2 separate regions of the Homo sapiens genome follow, and region 1 is linked to region 2. Evidence: promoter capture Hi-C in 16 types of primary human blood cells and fetal thymus (Javierre and others, 2016). All regions are on one chromosome and are shown on one strand. The core of a region is centred on a gene start or on the middle of the fragment in contact, and the rest is flanking DNA. Distances in the headings are between cores, read along the strand shown.

What was found. The method cuts DNA at HindIII sites, captures the fragments that hold promoters and counts their contacts. A CHiCAGO score of 5 or more calls a contact.
Region 1: a contact is called between the fragment with the promoter of CD34 here and the fragment with the promoter of CR1L in region 2, in 13 of 17 cell types (neutrophils, non-activated CD4 T cells, total CD4 T cells and 10 more). The highest score is 23.2, in neutrophils.

What each region holds. Positions count from the first base shown.
Region 1 is chr1:207,907,050-207,913,215 of GRCh38, reverse strand. CD34 (CD34 molecule) reads left to right here and starts at 2,091. Exons shown (of 8, transcript NM_001025109.2): 1 at 2,091-2,214. The coding sequence starts at 2,136. It overlaps LOC107985253 (a long non-coding RNA gene), which reads right to left and starts at 2,848. Exons shown (of 4, transcript XR_001738424.2): 1 at 2,659-2,848; 2 at 2,378-2,561. The HindIII fragment of the contact is 7,449 bases long and covers 1-4,583 here.
Region 2 is chr1:207,642,857-207,649,100 of GRCh38, reverse strand. CR1L (complement C3b/C4b receptor 1 like) reads right to left here and starts at 3,968. Exons shown (of 12, transcript NM_175710.2): 1 at 3,771-3,968. The coding sequence starts at 3,867. It also overlaps the pseudogene CD46P1. RefSeq lists an enhancer at 3,859-3,938 and a silencer at 3,999-4,168. The HindIII fragment of the contact is 2,525 bases long and covers 3,579-6,103 here.

The sequences.
Region 1 (6,166 bases), core at 842-3,341, 270 kb before region 2:
AGGGATTTGCCAGCCTCCCATATCCCCTACTTCTATTTTTCCTCCCTGAAGCCTGACATCCACTTCGCCCTTGCTCCTTGTACCCAGCAAGTGTTCTTTCTATACCAGGGCTTCTTGAACCTCAGTGTGCATGAGTCATGGAGAATACTTACTCAAAGTACAGATTCTGGCCCTCACCCTTGATTCTGTGTAGACCATGCTTTGAGAAAACTCTGCTCCACAGAATCATTCTCTCTCTCTTTGCTCCCAAAGCTAGTTAAGAAGTTCAGGTACTAAAGAAAGACAAGTTATTTCCCCTGTTTCCCGTGGTCCAGCTATGGGAGACAAATGGTATTTAAAGTAACCAGAAAAAAAAAATCTGGAAATGGAAGTTAAAGTGGACCAAATTAGCTTTCATATCTAGCAGGGATTACAACCCCACATTTGTTCTCAACTGCACACTGGATGCCTGAAGCAGACCGAGCGGTCCCTGGAGCTGAGGAAGTTGAGGGGAGTGGGGGGCCTGGCAGTGTTGGAACTAACTCCTTTTCCCTGTTAATTGGGAGTCCCAAGGACCAATGACTGATTTTAAAATGCATGTTTGCCACTCCTTCTGTCCCCAGGCCCTTGCCATCACTATGTGATCAGTTCTGAATCATCATTTGTACTTTGAAACAGATTCATACCATTCCGTTGTATTCAATCAAATTAGCATATCAGGCCTTTGCTCTTATTGTGTGATGAAAGACTTTGTTCCCTGTTTAAAGGAATGCTAGGCAACAAGACCAGAATAAGGAGATTTTGGGTTTGTTTTTAGACCTGGATCCTTCTCCTGTGCAACCCCAACGCATAGTAGGTTTGAGATGGACTATAAAGGTAAAGCTACTTTTATAATGCTAGAGTGTCTGCGGAGAAATCAGAAAGGACCACAGAGTGCTGGTCTGGCTTCTCTTTTTTCCCTTTAGGCTATGTGGTACAGACATCATGGAAGAGCCTGAACTGAGTATTTATAATTTCATGATTCTGCTCTGGATATCAGAGCAGCCTCTCCCAGGTTATACCTTATCTGATCCTCCCCTGGTGCCATCATCTGCCCAGGCTGGCTTCTCCTTTCTCCCGTCTCTACGTCCCCAAGACTAGGCTGCCTACCCGGCTCAGAGTTTCTTCTATTCAGTACAACCAACACCCAGAGGAACTGGTGAGGAACAGGAAGCTCAAGGATCTATCAAGTGGTGGAGGATGGAGTCACAGAAAGTCCTTTTTCTGATGGGAGAGCAAGGTGAAATCCCTAGTGGCTTAGACCCAGGGCTGGAGAGGGGATAACTGGTGAGAAGGCATCCAGGGAAGTCCTTTTTCTTTAGGATGATGGTGATGGGGAACTAAATGGGGAAATATGGAAGGTCACAGGAAAAGTTAACACAAGTTAGCAAAAAGTTAACATAACACAAAAAGGTCTTGCAGGAAAAAAAAAAGAAAAGAAAAGAAAGAAAAAGTCTCCAAGAATGGTTTGGACAGCCAAAATGAATACTTATAGTCACGTATACCTGCTCACTCCTGACGCTTCACTCACACACAGCACAGGATCTGGTGAGGCTATCACTAAATGTGCCACATTGTGGTTAAGTTTTACCTGATTAACGAAATGCTCACACTTCTAAACTGAGGTCCTTACAGTAGATTCCTTTTGCAAGATTGTTACTGGCTTACAACTTAAAAATAAAGGAAAATCACAAGGAAAGAAAAGTGGGGAAAAAATCGGAGGAAACTTGCCCCTGCCCTGGCCACCGGCAAGGCTGCCACAAAGGGGTTAAAAGTTAAGTGGAAGTGGAGCTTGAAGAAGTGGGATGGGGCCTCTCCAGAAAGCTGAACGAGGCATCTGGAGCCCGAACAAACCTCCACCTTTTTTGGCCTCGACGGCGGCAACCCAGCCTCCCTCCTAACGCCCTCCGCCTTTGGGACCAACCAGGGGAGCTCAAGTTAGTAGCAGCCAAGGAGAGGCGCTGCCTTGCCAAGACTAAAAAGGGAGGGGAGAAGAGAGGAAAAAAGCAAGAATCCCCCACCCCTCTCCCGGGCGGAGGGGGCGGGAAGAGCGCGTCCTGGCCAAGCCGAGTAGTGTCTTCCACTCGGTGCGTCTCTCTAGGAGCCGCGCGGGAAGGATGCTGGTCCGCAGGGGCGCGCGCGCAGGGCCCAGGATGCCGCGGGGCTGGACCGCGCTTTGCTTGCTGAGTTTGCTGCGTGAGTACCGCCCGCGCGCCGCGGCCGCTTGGCTTCGCCGCGGGGAGGGTGGAGGCTTTCTGGGAGGCTGAACAGCAGAGCAGAGTCTCACGGAGGGAAGGGACCCCTGCCCAACCCACGCACTGCCGCCCACAGCTGCTTCCCCCCGGGGCCAGCGCCTCACCTGGGAGCTGACGGGGGTGGGAGGGGAAGGGAAGGCCATCACCCCCGCGAGTGTGCGTTAGCCGAGGTGTGAATCGGTCAGCACGACTGGTTCCAATGGACTGAGATAAAGCGCTTTGGAGATGCCAGGGTCTCTTCTGGTTGCCAGAGGCGCGGAGTGCGAAGTTGCAGCCAGAACCGGGAGACTGGGGAGGAGAGAAGCAGGAAAAGTTTTGTGGCTCTTGGTTGATTCAGAAAGTATAGACACGGAGCGGATTGCTGGGAAGGGGCCGGTGTGCCCACCTTGCACAGGGACTGGGAGAGCCAGAAGTGGACATTAAGGAATTCGAGGGAAGCGAATCAGGGATGAGGCTCCAGGTCCCAGGCCAGGGGTGTTCGGAATGAACAGTCCGTGAAAAGGAAAAACAAAACCAAACAACCAACCAAACAAAAACCTTGCATTTAAGATTGGGAAGCTGAGTTTGAATTCCCACTTCAGCAACCCCACCGCGGAGGAGGTAGAAGTAGACAGAATTTGCTCTGCGCCCAGCCTCGCTCGCCTTACCAAAAACCGTCACCCCTGCACAAATTTCAAAACTTGTCACCTTTTGGAGTTTTCTTCCTCTGCCCCTGCTCCAAGTTCTAAAGCTAGTGGATGGGTTAGAACACTGCCCCCACTCACCTACACATATCCTTACTCTTAAGGTCTTGCTCTCACTTCGGTTAAAAAAAAAATAGGCACCCGGTAAATATTTATACTCGATTACTTTCCTTGGGGAATGACATTCTCCACCTCATCTCTTTGCACTTGGAAGGTTTGAAACTTTTGAAACTTTGTACATTGCTCTCCCTTTTGCTTACAGCACTCTAGGGCTCCCAATTCTGTACTCTCACTACATCCTAAGGGCCACCCACTGTGGCCCTGCAGAGTGACCTGGACTAGACCTCTTTGTTCCCAGTCTCCTCTGTTGTCCATCTTTGGGTCCGCCCAGCTGGGGACAGCTGCCCCTGGGCTGGAGGAAGCTCTGAGAGAAGTTTTGGGTTGCCCTGTTTGGCAGTCCTGGATGTGTGCTTTGGGGCAAGGAAAAGCTATCAATGAGGTTTCAAAATTCTAGAGTGGGTGCTAGACTAGGCCCTCATAACAGGAGTGAGTCGGCCGGGCGCAGTGGCTCACGCTTGCAATCCCAGCACTTTGGGAGGCCGAGGCAGGCAGATCATGAGGTCAAGAGATCGAGACCATCCTGGCCAACATGGTGAAACCCCATCTCTACTAAAATTACAAAAATTAGCTGGGCATGGTGGCACACCCCTATAGTCCCAGCTACTCGGGAGGCTGAGGCAGGAGAATCCCTTGAACCCAGGAGGCGGAGGTTGCAGCGAGCCAAGATCCTGGCACTGCACTCCAGCCTGGGAGACAGAGCGAGACTCCTTCTCAAAACAAACAAACAAACAAAAAACAAAAAACAAAAAAACAGGGGTGAGTTGGCCAGTGGTGCAGATTCCAATCAGATGCTCCATTCTCCTTTGGCTACACAGCTTGTGATGACCTGGTCCTCAGCCGAATGAGGTCCACCCTTTTCTTATTTCCTCAGCTGGTAAGTGCCAGTCTCGCCTTGGCCTGCCGAGGTTGGGGTTGGGGGAGCAACACAACCTTGGCAAAACTTTGGACTGATATGCTGAGAATATCCCAGCTTTTGGTGGGGAGGGATGAGGCACAAGGCCCCATTCCCAGCCTTGCCAGACTACTTGAGCCAATTGTAGTTTTATGCCCTTCCCAAGAGCTTTCTAGGGTTTTTGCTTGGATTTGTTTTGTTTTGTTAATACTAGGAGTCATTTTCAGTCCTGGGATACATTGTGGGATAAATGAGATAACTGAGTGTACCTTGAAATGCTACCATAGGGCCATTGCAGAAATGCTATTATTATTGTAAAATTTAGGGTAGAGGGGATTTCTGTGGTTTGTTTTCTCATCATTTACCCCAACAAAGAGCTTGTTTTGGGAAGTTCTTTTTTTCTGTCCCTTTGAGAAGGTGGCATGTGCATAGGCACTGCAACTAACCAGAAGTGGGCTGTCTTTGTTGGAAGTGGGGGAGATCACAGAGCAGAGTCAGGGTAAGGGGCTCAAGGGCCACCAGGCAGCACTGCCAGAGTGCTGGCTGGAGCAGGAAGCCTTTCAGGTAATTAGGGAACCCCTTTGTCAGGCTCAGGGTATCTATTTCCTCCAAGCTTTCCAAGGCCTGTCCCTATCCTCACTCTAACAACACCCCCAGGCCCTCCCCGTCACATTCCTCTTCTTCCTTTGGGTCCTTCGTGCCTGCTGACCCCACACCCATATCCTGTCCAGGGCTACATGTAAGAGGGGAAAAATAAAAGGGAAAAGAATTTTATCAGCTATTTTCCAGAGGGGAGAGGACTCCACCCTTTGAATCTCTGCCATATGGCGACAGAGGAGGAGCAGGCTTGGGGACCTCTGACTAATTCAGTGGTCCCCAGTGCTCCGCACTTGTAGACCCAACCCAGTTGGCACCACCTTTGCAGATGCATGTCTTCAGCAGCATTTCTGTTCGGCTGATAAAACACACAGGGGCCTGGGGCCTCTTTTTCTTATCCCTTTGGCTCCACCTCCTGGGCCTCCTCATTCCCTTGTCCTCATCTCCTTCCTTCGCAATCTTTGTCTCAAAAAGCTTAGGGCAAGAAGTGCCAAACTGCAGCAGATAAACTCAGCTGCAGAGTCCTACGAAAACAAATGAAAATGAGGAACAAATTCCACTTCTTACCGTTGGTCTCATTGCCTGATTTCCTTTAGACCCTGAGCTGGAGGGCCTGGGTTTACTTTCAGGGCTGGATGGTTACCCAACTCCACTCTCAGGTACTTGGGCCTCCCTCTCTCATTGACTTTGGTTGATCTAACTAAATGGCTTGCAGTGTGGAGAATTAAAAATAAGAAGGTATGGAAAAAGAACACAACACCACCCTCCAGAAGAAAATTCTCACAGTCGCCAGGGCTGTGAGAATTCCATATTTTTGTGGGCTTGGACTTCTCTAATGAGAACATTCTCTTCCCTCCTTAGCTAATAAATGAAAACATATTATCTATGACTTTTAGTCCCAGAGCTGGACGTTGTGCTAAGGAGAAAGATGCGTGCATGTTGGAAAGATGGAGAGACAAACAAATAGGGATGCATATAAAGGTGTACTTCTTAGTACCTGTGCTCTTGGAGTCCGTCGGAATGAGTTACTTCCCTTCAGATGCAACGGAAAAGGCCTTTGGGCTTAATTGGGAAGTAGGCTTCTTCTTTATTTGGAAAAATGAAATCAAACTGATACTTCTTAGAGAGGAGTGGCATCCCTAGGCAGCTGATTTAAGAAAATGTCTTAAGAGGTCTTTGAGTGACAAAGCCTAGAACCCCAGACAATCCTGGATGAGCAAAGGTAGGCAGGAGGCTGAATTGCTGAGCATGATAAAATGAAGTGAAGCCTTGTGTTTAGGTGGGCACAAGAGACACAAGGCTGATAGGACTCCAGAGCCCAGGAAGAGCATATAAAGGGTGGAGAGGTGCCTGGAGTCATAGCAGGACAGTGGTGGGTGGAGGATGGAAAAGACCTGGGAGGAAATTTTTTTTTAATACATGGCTTCATTAGCACAGTAATGTCTAATATTTCAGGGTTATGCCATTGTCTCCCCTGGGCTGCCCTGTAATCTCGTTCCATGCCCTCAACCTTTCAGTAAATACTGGCTACACACACTAGCCTTGTGTTAGTGGCTCTCTGGGGAGGGTAAAGTAACTTACTTTACCTTGGCTAACTTACG
Region 2 (6,244 bases), core at 2,719-5,218:
ACTCTCCCCTGCATGGATCTCTCAGGTAATTATCACGTGTTTTTGAGTTTAATAGTTAACAAGGCCGACTCCATTCATCCATGTGGCCACAACACCCAGCACAATATGTCCCTCATAGTAGCTATTTGAAAAAAATTTGGTACTCAAAGTCCACTGCTGTCAAACACAAAACAATGTGAAGAATATATTGTAATCAATTTCATATTGAAAATAATCATTCTACAGAACAATGGAGAAAGAAGATTTAGCCATTTCTTGTGCTGCCTATCTCCCAGTCTTCTGGTATCCTGGCAGGTGACCAGATATGGACTGCTCTTTTTGCATTGTAGTATGCCGAGTGAGGAAACTAAGAAGCAATAAGAACTTACTGGTCTTGGCTTCTTTCATTGAAAATAAGGAAAACACCTGAAATAGGCAGAAGAGACCACACACAACAGGAGATCGGGGGTTTTGTCCAAAAAAGCAGCTCCTCTTCTGGAGGAATGAATGAGACTGGCCTGAAATTTGACACATGTTTCCTTCTGCTATCTGGAACCATTTGGCAACTACCTTTGAGAGGGCAGGTCTCCCATGCACAGCACCACCTGCTTACAAAACCTTATCTTTGTGAGAGTGAGTTGCTCCAAAAATTGAATGTTTATTTTAATTCATGTATTCTCTCTGCCTAGCATCGTGAGTTCTCATTTTTACTTTCTCTAGGTTTCATACCTGTCTTGATTTAACCCTATCAACCTCAAACTTAACCTTATTTTTCCTTCTCTTCATTTTTAGTTTTGTTATCTTCCATGTTGCACCCTATTCATTTTATAATTCTATGTTCCTCTATTTCAAATTGCTTTCATTATCTTCTTCAACTTCCAGGTTTTTTTTTTTTTTCTGTGTGTGTGTGTGTGTCTGTGTGTGTGTGTGTGTGTGTGTGTGTGTGTTTGAGACCGGGTCTCACTCTGTCACCCAAGCTGGAGTGCAGTGGTATGATTAGGGCTCACTGCAGCCTTGACCATGGGGGCTCCAGTGATCCTCCCCCTTCACGCCCTTCAGCCTCCCAAGTAGCTGGGACCACAGGCATGCAACATCACACCTGGCTAATTTTTTGTTTTTAATATTCTGTAGAGGTGGGCTCTCCTTATGATGCCCAGGCTGTATGTACTTCTAGTACTAAGCCTATTCTAAACATTAATCTTTAAAAAGAAAAAAAAGTCCTTTCGTTTTCTTCTTAACACCACTGCTCCCTAATCCCATCACCCTCCTTCAAAATGAACGTTTTAATGATCAGTGAGATGCAAGACTGAAGTACTGGAAGCCCTGCAGAGTCAACATAAACAGGGGAGACAGATCCTTTCTGGCCCTCAGCTGCTGCTGCCCTAGCTTTTTAGGTACAACAGAAAGACCATCCTGAGCATAGCTCTTTAAAGAACCTTCCTCTTGGAGGCAGGAGGGACTTTTTCCTAGGCTCTAAGCCCCAGCCAAATAGTATATTTAATTTTCTGATATTTAACAGATGTCTATATGGATACTGAGTTAGGGTTCATACAGAAGCAAACAAATGGGGCTTTTGGAACCACAAATGGGGGAAGACAGAAGATTCCTGCATTCTGATGGGGAGAGACAGAGAACAGAAAAGATCACTTTAAAAGGGTGATTACAAGAGGTACTTGAACTGGGTTGTATGTGTTCAACCTGAGTTGGGGGGTTCCAAGAAGGTCTCTGAAGCGGTAACATTCCAGCTGAGCTTGCAGAAGAAACAGCCCATTTATGCAGCAGGTCATGGGGAGAACGTTCCAGGACTGAGGGAACAGAAAGCACAGATGCCCCAAAGTGGCAGAGTTTTGTCTGTTTGATGAGAAGCAAAGCCTTCCCTCCCCCCAGTCATTTGTTAAATGCTGTCAGAAAATTATACTCCTTTCCTCCAGAACACTTCCCTGGTTAATATATTTGTTACTATTATGTTTTGGTTAATGTCTGCCACTCCCAATACATTTTAGCAAACATCTGTTGATTGCCTACTGTGTTCCCGGCATTAAGCACTTAACAATGAGCAAAAAAAGTCCCTGCTTATCTTCCTGCATGTACGTGTGTGTAAACAAATAGTAAAAAAAGGATAAAGAAAATAGGAATTGTCTGTTATTACCTACTAGTGTAACAGCACCAGACATACAAGACCCATATTTGTTGAATGAATGTTCCTAAGAGAAGAAATGCAACGTACAATCTGTACATGGAATAAGATCCTAAATATAATTTGGACATAGATACACATGAAACACAATAAAGTCAGAAGGAAATATAACAAAATATTAAAAACAGTTGTCCTTTTATTTTGTTCATTTTGCACAATAAGCCTGTATTTAAGCATGTATTTTTTGGCTTTTTTTTTTTTTTTTTTTTTTTTTGAGACAGGGTCTCACACTGTCATCCAGGCTGGAGTGCAGTGGCATGATCACAGCTCACTGCAGTCTTCTCCTCCTGGGCTCAAGCGATCCTCCCACCTCAGCCTCTGGAGTAGTTGGGACCACGGGCATACACCACCATGCCCATCTAATTTTTTTATTTTTTGTAGACATGGGGTTTTGACATGTTGTCCAGGCTGATCTTGAACTCCTGGGCTTAAGCAATCACCCAACTTGGGCCTCCCAAAGTGCTGGGATCACAGGTGTGAGCAACTGGGCCTGGCCTAGCATGCATTTTTAAAAATATTGATTCCATTCAATGAAATACAAAACAGTGGGATAGGCCTTAAGCTTCAGTTTATGAGCTGTAGGGGAAAACAAGATTAACATTATCTGCCTTCCTTTGTTAGGATACTAATTTCTCACTAGGTTTGGCTACCAGTGTTTTTTAGGTTGCTTCACATCTCTCAAATATGACTCAAACTAATGAAAAGAAGGAAAACAATGTCAAAAAGCCACTAGGCAATGGAATCAGATACTGTCTATATTGGTTGGGAACAGGAAGATGACTCGATGGCCCACCCACCCCCCAAAAAAGCAGCCACTTAAAATTCAAGACCAATACGATCTCAGGCAACACGGACACTGTTCACAGAAGGCACTAAAAGCATGGTGCGCCCTTACCACCTCTCTAACCCCAGGCACTGAGAGCCTGCTCTCACTCAACATGCCCTCCCTAGCCGCAGAGTCCGCGCTCGCTCCACTCAAAGCAAACAGTGAGCTGTCTTGCCCACAGTGAACTCCGCACACAGGCCACTTGCGCACAGCACGCTCCCAGCAACACCTGGCCAGGCCCCTGCTCGCCCAGCCCAGCCCAGGCCAGCCCAGCCCATGGGGCACAGCAGACGCACTGCAACCCTTACCGCGGGTACTGTCCAAGCCCTAATGAACACCCTACTCACCAAGGCACCAAGGGAACACAGGGCAAACTCTCACCACGGGCACAGCACGGGCTCTAGCAACAATCCCACGCACCTGTGCACTCCAGAGCAAGCCCTCACCTGGGGCGCCCAGTAAGCCCTCCCCTTGCTGACTGGGCTCAATCCCGAAAACACGATTCACGCTTCTTTTGGGAACGCAGCCAGATCCTGCGTAAATGTCGGCCGCGCACACGATGCCACCAAACAAGCTTCTGCGTGGTTCCCGCATCCCCCGCCACATACCCCCGGGATCTGAGCACGGCACCCCTCGGAGAACCCTGGCCTCGCTCTCTATCCCAAGCAGGCACGACGTGCAGTGAGCTTCGCCCCGCGCCTCCTGCCCGACTGACTGAGCAGAGCTCTAGCCTCGCCGCGGACGCGCGAATCCACCCCGGGGTCCTACCGGAGAAGGAGGACAGCAGCAACACCAGGGCCGCCAGAAGCAACCCAGGAAAGCGCCGGGAAGGAAAGGGACGCTCGAGACGGACGGGAGGCGCCATGAGCGGCGCGGGAGACCCCGTGATTTATCCGGAGGTGAGCAGAGAAACCGAAAGCCAGCCGAGCAGGGAAGTCCCTTCTGAGTCCGGTTAGTGGACACAACAATCCCCAAACTCACAGTTTCCAGGGCCGCATGACAGGTGGGCGTGGCCTGGGCGCGTAGTGTGAAATTGAGTCTTAGCGCCGGGGCGGCTGGGGCCAATCGGCGGGCCGCGGGGCGGGGCCTCGGCGCGCAGGGGCAGCCCGTTGGCCTTCGAGGAGACAGGGCGTGTCCAGAGCCCTGGCAGGGGGTTATCGTGGGCTAGCACCCCTCAGGGTTAGTTTTATCCTGGGGCACTGCAGGCTGTCAGGACTGCCTGGGCCCTTACTTGGTATTTGGCATTAGTCAGGCATTATTGGGAACAATATTTGAGTTTTTCTTGCTTGAATGCCTGCTACTGAATCGTCTCGGCGCCGTCTTCTTTTCACAGTCTCAAAGGTTTGGCTTCTGCACTCCCAGCCCCTAAGATAATTTGCCCTTTGCTCCCCTCCCTGGAGAGGACCCGTCAGAATCTAAATTATTAAGCAACACCAGGCCGTTAGCATATTGAGACTCTATGGGACCCTTGCCCTTGAGCAACTAAATGTTTTATTGAAGACGAAATATACATGCATGAACAATGTAAGGACAAGGGTGTCCTAAGTGCCAAATTCCTGGAAGCAATAAATGCAGGAGGATTGGGATGGGTAGAAATTGTTAGGCGAAGTGGATAAGGGGGAGAACTTTTCTGGTGAAACAATCTCAGGAACAATGTTGGAAAATTAAGAATGAGCAGGATTGATTTGTAGGGTTCTGAGTAAGCCAGTATGACTGGTAAAAGGGGGAAAAAAAAAGGGAACATGACTGGCATTAAAAGAGCAAACAAAAAAAGTTGACATCTCTTCCCCTCAGATTGGCAAAGAATTAAAACGTCAGCCAATGTGAGTGAACATGTTGCAGGGGGACCAGCACTCTGTTTGTAACATAACTTTTCAGAATGTTAAAAGTCTTAAAGTGGAAATGACTTGTGTTAGGCTCTCAGTTCCCAGAGAAATCATCAGAGCTGTGATCAAAGATTTATAATTTTTGTAAAAAATGTAAACCCTAAGTGTCTAGCAAAAGTAATAAGGAGGCAGTTACCTTTGTGTGATGGAATTCTATGCAGCAAGTATTGCAAAAGAATACCAAATGTGAGAAACTATGATATCATTGTAAGTGGAAAAAGCAGAGTCCAAATTGGCATGTGCATTTTGGCAGTCCTTTTATTAAAACAAAAATGCTATATATATATATATATATATACATACACTAATTTGGAACACAACAAAATTAACAATGGTTAAGATTATAGATATTTCACTTTCCTTGTGCTTTTCAGTTTTCTTTTTCTATGTTGACCCTATGTTACATTTAGAATAAGGTAAAGAAAATGTATTTTAAAAATCAAATCTATGTATCAATTGTTGTTTTGTTCATAGAATTATGGGAGTAGAACTTGTATTACACAGGGTTTGTATGAGAGGATAGTGAGGAATTAGATGCTTAGTGTATAAACCTAAAATGGGTCTTATGGAATTATAGAGTTTAAATGTATTTAATACAGTTCTATAACTGAGATGTACTGAAGACTTTCTGGGTTCACCAAACCACGGAATTTCCTCTTCCCAAACATTTTCAAATTTTTGGCATAGAATACAAGACATTGAGTCTGGTGGTATATCAAATAAACATCTTAGTATCTTGGATTATAAAATTCAGACACTCTATGACAGTAATTAAAGGAGGTATAATTAAGGGGATAGTAAATAGGAAACTCAATGAGGAGAAATTATTATTCCTGTTAATGTATGGTGTGAAAGAGCAATATGACAGACATGTTCTGTGGCTCAATGCCAGCACTTATTTGTGAAAGCAGATAGTCTATTTATTTTTCTCCACATCAATAGATATTAAAAATTCTCCATTTATTTTCAGGCTTGGAAGAAAGATACCTTTTTCTCATGAGAAAAATTATTATAAAGAATAGAAGAAAAAATATGGCTAGTGTTTGATTTCCTAGTTTCAGGTGTCAGATTAGATTCAAAGATCGGTATTTTATTGAAACTTTCTTTCAATCAGTAAAATTTCCATCCCTGGGGTTAATCAAGCCATTCTTAATATACTCGAAGACTTTCACATTAAATTTATAAAACTAATTTTTATTTGAGTTAACTGAAGCTTCATTTGAATGGTTCTGAGCCTTGTTTCCTATTTTTTGGGATAAGTTCCATAAGTCAGGGTTAGAGCTTTCTTATAATATCTCCAGTGCCAAAATCTGTAGTAAGTGTACAATGAATAGCTGGTAAATATTGGATGAAATA